2 separate regions of the Homo sapiens genome follow, and region 1 is linked to region 2. Evidence: promoter capture Hi-C in 16 types of primary human blood cells and fetal thymus (Javierre and others, 2016). All regions are on one chromosome and are shown on one strand. Each heading gives the region's core, a stretch centred on a gene start or on the middle of the fragment in contact. The rest is flanking DNA. Distances are from core to core; before and after follow the strand shown.

Region 1 (5,368 bases), core at 2,099-4,598, 980 kb before region 2:
AAAACCCCATTGTTTCAGCCCAAAATCTCCTTAAGCTGATAGGCAACTTCAGCAAAGTCTCAGGATACAAAATCAATGTGCAAAAATCACAAGCATTCTTATACACCAATAACAGACAGAGAGCCAAATCATGAGTGAACTCCCATTCACAATTGCTTCAAAGAGAATGAAATACCTAGGAATCCAACTTACAAGGGAAGTGAAGGACCTCTTCAAGGAGAACTACAAACCACTGCTCAATGAAATAAAAGAGGATACAAACAAATGGAAGAACATTCCATGCTCATGGGTAGGAAGAATCAATATCATGAAAATGGCCATACTGCCCAAGGTAATTTATAGATTCAATGCCATCCCCATCAAGCTACCAATGACTTTCTTCACAGAATTGGAAAAAACTACTTTAAAGTTCATATGGAACCAAAAAAGAGCCTGCATCGCCAAGTCAATCCTAAGCCAAAAGAACAAAGTTGGACGCATCACGCTACCTGACTTCAAACTATACTACAAGGCTACAGTAACCAAAACAGCATGGTACTGGTACAAAAACAGAGATACAGACCAATGGAACAGAACACAGCCCTCAGAAATAATGCCGCATATCTACAACCATCTGATCTTTGACAAACCTGACAAAAATAAGAAATGGGGAAACAATTCCCTATTTAATAAATGGTGCTGGGAAAACTGGCTAGCCATATGGAGAAAGCTGAAACTGGATCCCTTCCTTACACCTTATACAAAAATTAATTTAAGATGGATTAAAGACTTACATGTTAGACCTAAAGCCATAAAAACCCTAGAAGAATACTTAGGCAATACCATTCAGGACATAGGCATGGGCAAGGACTTCATGTCTAAAATACCAAAAGCAATGGCAACAAAAGCCAAAATTGACAAATGGGATCTAATTAAACTAAAGAGCTTCTGCACAGCAAAAGAAACTACCACCAGAGTGAAAAGGCAACCTACAGAACGGGAAAAAATTTTTGCAACCTACTCATCTGACAAAGGGCTAATATCCAGAATCTACAATGAACTCAAACAAATTTACAAGAAAAAAACAAACAACCCCATCAAAAAGTGGGTGAAGGATATGAACAGACACTTCTCAAAAGAAGACATTTATGTAGCCAAAAGACACATGAAAAAATGCTCACCATCACTGGCCATCAGAGAAATGCAAATCAAAACCACAATGAGATACCATCTCACACCAGTTAGAATGGTGATCATTAAAATGTCAGGAAACAACAGGTGCTGGAGAGGATGTGGAGAAATAGGAACACTTTTACACTGTTAGTGGGACTGTAAACTAGTTCGACCATTGTGGAAGTCAGTGTGGCGATTCCTCAGGGATCTAGAACTAGAAATACCATTTGACCCAGCAATCCCATTACTGGGTATATACCCAAAGGATTATAAATCATGCTGCTATAAAGACACAAGCACACGTATGTTTATTGCAGCACTATTCAATAGCAAAGACTTGGAAGCAACCCAAATGTCCATCAATGATAGACTGGATTAAGCAAATGTGGCACATATACACCATGGAATACTATGCAGCCATAAAAAAAGATGAGTTCATGTCCTTTGTAGGGACATGGATGAAGCTGGAAACCATCATTCTCAGCAAACTATCACAGGGACAAAAAACCAAACACCGCATGTTCTCACTCATAGGTGGGAATTGAACAATGAGAACACATGGACACAGGAAGGGGAACATCACACATCAGGGCCTGTTGTGGGGTGGGGGGAAGGGGGAAGGATAGCATTAGGAGATATACCTAATGTTAAATAACTAGTTAATGGGTGCAGCACACCACCATGGCACATGTATATATATGTAACTAACCTGTACATTGTGCACATGTACCCTAAAACTTAAAGTATAATAATAATAAAAAAGAAATATACTCACACACACACACAAAAACAGAAGAAAAATACTTGTCCCCAATGATGTATATCTCTATAATGACTGGAATTCTCATTTCTCCATCATTTTTTCTTCAGACACAGCTGAATAAAAACTCAGATATTTTTGTTCTTGATGAAGATCCAATTCGACCACTTCTTTTATGTATATTTCTCCCTTCTTTCCTCCATCCTCTCCTCCTTTCCTTCCTTCCTTTCCTGCTTGTTTCTTCCCTGTTTCCATTTATCCATCCATTTTATAAACATTGATTTTAGAGCCTATTATACATCAGAAACTATGTAGAAATGTGACCATAAGTTGCGTTCTATCTGGGTCGGATAATTAAGAAGCAGGTAAAATGCAGTGTAGTTAATTCTCAGGTAGAAGTGGGAGTGGAATATTACGGGACTAGAGTGAAGGACCATCATCCAGTCCGGGCTGGGTAGAAAACACCTTACAGACAGGCTCAGCATAGAGACTAGAAATCCTGGGCAGAGACTGCAGGAAACAGCCCAGGGCAAGTGGGTATATTTCATCCGCCACAAAACAGCCACCTAATCTGACTGATCCCTAAAAATATATACTTTTTGAACAACATAAGTAATACACAAATGCGTTTTTAGTATACAAATTCAATCAAAAACTCAGAATATGCAAGAACAGTTTTAAAGTTCATGTTTTCTTCACTGGAGCCCTTTCAATCTTTTCACTTATAATAATTTTTAACTATATGGCTATGTAGACGTTCATAAGTTTTCTAAGTATATACATACATACACACATATTGTCTATATATATATGTGTGTGTATATATATATGTATATATATATATATATATACACACACACACACACACACACACACCACATTGTCTGTATAAATAATAAAAAAGTTGGCCAGGTGCGGTGGGTCACACCTGTAACCCCAGCACTTTAGGAGGCTGAGGCAGGCGGATCATGATGTCAGAAGATCCAGACCATCCTGGGCAACATGGTGAAACCCCGTATCTACTAAAAATACAAAAATTAGCTGGGTGTGGTGGCGCGCACCTGTAGTCCCAGCTATTTGGTAGGCTGAGACAGGAGAATCGCTTGAACCCGGGAAGCAGAGGTTGCAGCAAGCCGAGATCACGCCACTGCATTCCAGCCTGGTGACAGAGTGAGACTCCATCTCAACAACAACAACAAAAAGCTTTCTAAATATATACATACATTATATATAAATAATAGAAAGGAAGTTAGATATATAGTGATATATGTATACATAGGCATACATTATATATGTGTATATGTACACATATATATGACTATACATATTCTGTAACTTCCTTTTTTATTGAAAATATCTTGGAATGCTTACATGGCCTATGCAGATATCATTCTTTTAAATACCTAAAGAGTATCATTTTTTGCATAGAAGTGATATGTATTCACGCATTTATAGTAAGAAAAACACCATTAACACTGAAAAATGTAAATCAAGGTTTCCCCAATCCTCCCCAAACTATTCATTCCTATCTTCATTCTTCATAGCTAATCTCTCTTAAGTCTTTGTATATTCTCCCAGAAATATTGTGTGTGTGTGTGTGTGTGTGTGTGTGTGTGTGTATGTGTGTGTGTGTGTGAGAGAGAGTATTCTCCATTTTTCCATAAGCTTAAAGCCAAGCTGTTCTCTGGTACCCAGGAGGACACAGGTTTTCCCTTTCCTGTGCTGCTTCTCCACCTGGCAAGATCTGTGTGTGAGGTGTATGGAGGTGGATCAGCTGTTCATCAAGCCATACTCAAGAATGTTCTGTTCAATGTAATGAGACCTCTGTAAATGCCAGTGTGAGAGGAATTATATTTCTGATGTGGAACATTCTTTTAATGGAGAAATGGGCTATGGGAAAAAGCAGAACATGCTCTTATTTCAAACATTGGGGAGAGAGATGGAAAATTTTTCTTGTAAATTATTCGCTATGTTAAACTAAGTCATTCAGAAAATGCATTTTAATAGGGCACATAAAATCAACAGGATCAGCAGGTAGAGCATCTATTTAAATTGCCACCTGCCACAAAGAAGCTAACACTGTATTCTCCAGCTGAAGATATTCAATTGTGTATGCTTTAGGGGTATGGGTGATTCTAGCTCCTGGTTGCATTATAATTTATAATAAATGAGGCATGAATTTATAGGGATTATTTATTTACTTTGAAGCAAATCTGTGATCCATGAATGACCCTATTACCAGTTAATAGGAGGAAAGAATTACTTGTTATTGGAATGAAATAAGAATAAGATCTAAACATGTAACATGCTTGACACGCATAGAGTCTTCAAAATATCTCCCCAAAAGGTTCATGTCAATAACATTCACCATAGGATACACAAAATATGAGCTCATTATCCATATATGAGAGAGGGAATAATGGATGTCTTCATATCTGACTTGTCCAATTTTACCTAAAATACTAGTGAGCAAGTGGGAACCAGGACACAGATCTTCTAATTCAGCCAAGCATAATTTTCGCCATAAAGATTCTTAAGTCTGTATTCAAATAATAATCATGCAAACTAATATTGGTGTAGCATTTTACATTTTAAAAAAGCAATTTTTCAGCAAACAATCAACATAATATCTTAGTTAAAAATGGTTGGGAGGCCGAGGTGGGCGGATCACAAGGTCAAGAGATCGAGACCATCCTGGCCAACATGGTGAAACCCCGTCTCTACTAAAAATACAAAAATTAGCTGGGCGTGGTGGCGTGTGCCTGTAGTCCCAGCTGTTCGGGAGGCTGAGGCAGGAGAATGGCTTGAACCCAGGAGGTGGAGGTTGCAGGGAGCCGAGATCGCACCACTGCACTCCTGCTTGGCGACAGAGCGAGACTCCATCTCAAAAGAAAAAAAAAAAGGTAATATTCACAGCATTTCTTCAGAACAATAAACTATGGACCAAGGAAATGAAAAAACTTGTTTCAGATCATACCCCTAAAAAGTGGCAGCATTCAAATAGCAGCACTTTGGTTAGCAAATCCCACTTTTCTCCCCGAAATTTTATGACACCATTACATCTAGAGTTGCGATGCATATATTACTGTATCTCCCTTACCTTATGAAATAGGGAAGCATGGAGATTCTCATCCTTATTTCCTAGAACAGAAACTTCAAAGTACCAATGATTTAAAGTTACAGTCACGCTAATGGGAGGATTAGCAGTTAGCACCCAATCAAGTACACTCAGCCCCTTTATGTGAGACAACCGTTTACCTAAACAATCACGATAGTTTGTGACTATCGTGAAACAATCCCAGTCGAAGAAGCGCAATGCTTCTGTCCCATTAATGTTAAGGAAAATCCTCTTCGACTGAAGGATTTGGGCGAGGTTTTCTCAGTTTGACCACATGGTGGCAGTATTACCATGCATTGAAAGACTTCCAGCCCCAGCAGTTCAGAATAAGAGTGCGC
Region 2 (5,122 bases), core at 178-2,677:
AATCGCTTGAACCCGGGAGGCGGAGGTTGCAGTAAGCCGAAATTGCGCCACTGTACTCCAGCCTGGGCGAGAGAGTGAGACTCCATCTCAAATCATTTATTTCTAAATCTTTGTACATCCGTGTGGTAAAAGCATTTTGTCCATGCAGTCTGAATAATCGCTTGCAAATTATATTCATTTACCACTGTGCTATTAGATACAATACAAAAGTCACAAAGTTGGGATTTTTATTTATTTATATTTTATTTTACTTTTTTGAGACGGAGTCGAGCTCTTGTCACCCACGCTGGAGTGCAATGGCGCGGTCTCCGCTCACTGCAACCTCCGCATCCCAGGTTCAAGCGATTCTCCTGCCTCAGCCTCTCGAGTACCTGGGATTACAGGCGCACGCCACCACGCCTGGCTAATTTTTGTATTTTTAGTAGAGTCAGGGTTTCACCATGTTGGTCAGGCTGGTCTCGAACTCCTGACCTCATGATCCGCCAGCCTCGGCCTCCCAAAGTGCTGGGATTACAGGCGTGAGCCACCGCGCCCGGCAAAACTGGGATTTAAAATGTGGAAAAGTTAACTCCAATTTGAACGTACATTACTTTATTACTACACAGGAATAGCTCATCTTCCACTTTAAAGACTACTGGAAATCACCAGAGCACTTATTTTCACCTCTCTATCTTCCCTCAATATACAGTTCACCTTTCTTGCTACAAGGTAAACTCCTTGGGCAAAACTGAGAGATTGGGTCACCTGTGCCTCCCTCCCTCCCTAACCTCCAGCATTCCTCCTTCCTCAGCTCTTAGTACCAAGCTGCGCCTGGTAACTTAAGTCAATTTCCGCTCTTAAGAGTCCCTTTAGGATCGTTTAAAGGTGAAGCCCAGCGGAAAGGATACAGGATACAGCAGTGAAACTCTCAGCTCCGAAAAGGCTTGAGCCTCTTACTAAACATGCAGGGATGCAAGAAACGGTGCTCGGGGATGAGACTAAGGACCGGCTGGGAATCTGGAAGGGTTCCAAGTTTGGGGTTTAGGCAAACTTCGGGTTCACGTTTCCACAAACGTCGAGTTTACGCGCCCCCGCCAGCAGACCTGAATTGAATACGGGCCACGGGGAAGCCTAAAGCAAGTGACTTACTTTAAGCCTCAGTTTCCCCATTTGTGAATTAGTTGCTCGGATCCCTGGAGGAGATACGCGTACGCGCAGTTCACGTTTCAGAAAAAAGGGAAGGCTAGGGACAAAGACGCCCATGTCTTATATTACCTCGAAAGATGACTCCAACTCGTCCACCAAAGTACTGCTGGAAGGTCTAGGAGCGCCTGGAGCTGCCTGAAGAAGCGAAGCTTGGCCCGGAAGGCCCGGCGGGGCCTGAGGGGGACCGGGTGGCTGCCCAGAAAACATACCCCCTAGTGGAGCCGCCATGTTTGGAATGGCGCAAGAGAGATCCACTGCGCCTGCGCGGAAGCCGGCTCAGAAGCTCACGTGGCTGGTGTAGTAGGCGTGGTCACGTGACAGGACCGAGCGATGGGAGGATTCTGGTGCACCCCGGAAGGAGGATTTTTAATTCTTCTGTTTTCTTGTCTATCGCAAAACAGAGTTTACATGTATTTTCCTTTTTTCTTAGCTTAAGAATTGAAGACTTTGGCCGGATTAGACCTGGTTGTGTGGAGAGGAGAATTAATAACTACAGTGGAGCGAGCCCTCCTGCGAGAGTCAGGATACTACTATGCTAGTCCCGACTCTGCCCCAAATGCCTGGAGAGACTTTGGCTAAGTCACTTTTTCTTTCCGCGGGCTGTTTACCGTTGGTAAAAGGAGAGGGTCACCCACTCACTCCACAAACATTTGTTGAGTCATTGGTTATAGCGGGAACAAGACAGGCAAAGTTCTTCCTGAATTCTGGTCGGAGATGGATAACGGAAACAACTTTGTTGAGGTTCCCAATGTGCCCGGCACTGATGTCTTTAAATATTTATGGTTACATCAAAGAGAAAGTCACTATGCTAATCTTTTTTTTTCTTTCTTTTCTTTTTTCTCAGGGTCTCGTTCTGTCGCCCTGGCCGGAGTGCAGTGTCATGATCAGGGCTCGACCTCCCGGGCTCAAACAATCCCCCTACTTCAGCCACCCAAGTAGCTAGGACCACAGGTGCGTGCAGTCGCGACGGGCTTTTTTTTTTTTTTTTTTTTTTTTTTTTAGTTGAGTCAGGTGTTTTACTGAGCTCAAGTGATTCTACCGCCGCGGCCTCCCAAAGTGTTGGGAATACAGTAATGAGCCAAGGCGCCAGGCTGCTAATTTTTTTTTTTTGAGACAGAGTCTCGCTTTGTCGCCCAGGCTGGAGTGCAGTGGCGCGATCTTGGCTCACTGCAAGCTCCGCCTCCCGGGTTCACGCCATTCTCCTGCCTCAGCATCCCGAGTAGCTGGGACTACAGGCGCCCGCCACCACGCCCAGCTAATTTTTTGTATATTTGGTAGAGATGGGGTTTCACCGTGTTAGCCAGGATGGTCTCGATCTCCTAACCTCGTGATCCGCCCGACTCGGCCTCCCAAAGTGCTGAGATTACAGGCGTGAGCCACCGCGCCCGGCACTAGGCTGCTAATCTTGTAGTAACCTGCTTTTAACATTTGCTTATCTCTCTCTTTTTTTTTGGTGACGGAGTCTCGCTCTGTCGCCCAGGCTGGAATGCAGTGGCGCGATCTCGGCTCACTGAAACCTCCGCCTCCTGGGTTCAAGCAATTCTCCTGCCTCAGCCTTCCGAGTAGCTGGGACTACAGGCGCCCGCCGCTCGGCTAGTTTTTCTGTATTTTAGTAGCGCCGGGGTTTCACCTTGTTGCCCAGGCTGGTCTCGAACTCCTGAGCTCAGACAATCCGCCCGCCTCGGTCTTCCAAAGTGCTAGGATTACAGGCGTGAGCCACCGTGCCCAACCTTCTTATTTATCTCTTTAAAACCAAATAACTTTTTTTCATTATATCTGATTTTACAGTTATTACCCAGCACACTTACTGAGCGCTCCACTTCCCAGGCACTATTTAATGATCTGGAGGTTATAGCAATCATCCCAAATCTCTGGAAGGAGACAGACAAGCACATAAATACATAGCAATATTGTGCAGAGAGAAGAGCTGGGAAGGAAAATGAAACCCAGTAAGGGGATGGCTAGTGAGAGGGGTGTTCTTTGAGATAGGTGATTGGAGGAGGCCTCTCCAAGGAGATCTGGACTGTAGTGACTGGCATGAAAATTTAACTAGGAGTGCTTTCTACACCGAAGGATCCCTGAAGAAGCAGCCTGCCTGGGATGTTTAAGGAACCACAGGAAGCTCATTGCCAGAGGAGTGAGCCAGGGCAGAAATGTTCAGAGAAAAAGCAGGAGCTTCCCTTTGCCAACCAGGCTCGGATCAAGTCATCTTCCCAGCCTCAGTTTCACTTAGATCCCCACTCCTAAGTACTTTCCCCTGTTTAATTTTCTTCACAACATTTATGTAATCTGAAATTATCTTGTTCATTTTTTCATAACTGAATCACCTGCCCTCCTCCTCCTTCTCTCTCTGTCATACACATGCCAACTAGAAAATAAGTTCCGTGCATCAGAGCCTGCCCATCTTATTCACCTGTATCCCCAGAATCTAGAATGGTGCCTGGCATAATAGATATAATAAATATGTGATGACTGAAAGAACCAGAAGAGACCGCCAGGAGGAAACAAGCCTACTCCAGCAGTTTTCAGACAGTTTTGGTCTCAAGACCCCTTTACACTCCTAAAAATTATTGAGGATCCCAAAGTTTTTGTTTATGTGGGTTAAGTCTGCTAATATTTATCTGATAAGTTAAAACTGAGAATTTTAGGCTGGAGGCAGTGGCTCATGCCTGTAATCCCAGCACTTTGGGAGGCCGAGGCAGCCGGATCACAAGGTCAGGAGATCAAGACCATCCTGGCTAACATGGTGAAACCCCATCTCTACTAAAAATACAAAAAATTAGCCAGGCGTTGTGGCGGGCGCCTGTAGTCCCAGTTACTTGGGAGGCTGAGGCCGGAGAATGGGGTGAACCCAGGAGGCAGAGCTTGCAGTGAGCCGAGATCATGCCACTACACTGCAGCCTGGTTGAGAGCAAGACTCCGTCTCAAAAAAAACAAAAACAGAATTTTAAAAATCAATTCATTAAAAAATAATTCATTAAATGTTAACAAAAACAATCTTTATTAAAACTAATACTCTATTTTCTAAAATAAGGAATAAGTAAAAAGTATGGCATCATTTTACTTTTTTGCAAATCTCTCTCTATATATATATATTTTTTTTGAGACAGGGTCTTACTCTGTTGCCCAGGCTGCAGTGCAGTTTCACAATTACAGCTCACCATAACTTCCGCCTCCCAGGCTCCAGCAATTCTCCCAATCAGCCTCCCAAGTAGCTGGAACTACAGGCATGTGCCAACACACCTGGCTAATTTTTTGTAGAGATGGGGTCTTGCCATGTTGCCCAGGCTGGTCTTGAACTCCTGGGCTCAAGCAGTCCACCTACCTCGGCCTCCCAAAGTGCTGGAATTATAGGAGTGAGCCACCGTGCCCAGCCTTTCAAGTCTCATTAATATCCAGTTTACCTAACCTCATTGTAAATTTCCTGCGAACATGGTCAGTGGTATTTCTCTTGCAGTCCTCCTAGAGTACTGCACAAAAAAGCACTAACATTTTTTGGATTTTGCTGAAAACCCATCACTTCATTTATAAGATGAGAGAACACTGCCTTAGAAAAATTACTAAGAACAAGATAATCTATGTAGAGGTTTAATACTGTGCCTTGCATAAACTAAGTTGCTAAGGAGTGACACGATGTAACTCCTATTTTTAATTTTTAGAGATAAGGTCTCACTATGTTGCCCAGGCTAATCTTGAGCTCCTGGCCTCAAGTGATCCTCCCACCTTGGCCTCCCAAAATTCTGAGAATACAGGCATGAGCCACTGGGCCCGGCCTGATTTATGTTTTAAAATAATCTTTCTAGTCATACAGATAACAGGAGAACAAGTGGAGAAGGCAGGGAGACCAGTGAAAGAGAGTAATCTAGGAGTGCAGAGAGGATGGTGACTTGTACCAGGGCAGTTGAGACAGCGGTGGTGAGACTTGGGTCAAATAAAC

Evidence for each region. Contacts are between HindIII fragments. The CHiCAGO score rates a contact against its expected background, and 5 or more counts as called.
Region 1: a contact is called between a fragment that was not itself captured here and the fragment with the promoter of MED28 in region 2, in 4 of 17 cell types (endothelial precursors, total CD8 T cells, naive B cells and 1 more). The highest score is 7.5, in endothelial precursors.

Annotation. Positions count from the first base shown.
Region 1 is chr4:18,593,675-18,599,042 of GRCh38, reverse strand. The region is part of intron 1 of LOC105374510 (a long non-coding RNA gene); the gene reads right to left. Among named protein-coding and RNA genes, the nearest start is that of LCORL, 570 kb to the right of the region's middle. The HindIII fragment of the contact is 462 bases long and covers 3,118-3,579 here.
Region 2 is chr4:17,610,946-17,616,067 of GRCh38, reverse strand. It overlaps MED28 (mediator complex subunit 28), which reads right to left and starts at 1,427. Exons shown (of 4, transcript NM_025205.5): 1 at 1,255-1,427. The coding sequence starts at 1,413. MED28-DT (MED28 divergent transcript) reads left to right here and starts at 1,488. Exons shown (of 3, transcript NR_186331.1): 1 at 1,488-1,926; 2 at 2,030-2,136. RefSeq lists enhancers at 1,278-1,387, 1,488-1,777, 883-2,082. The HindIII fragment of the contact is 7,436 bases long and covers 1,337-5,122 here.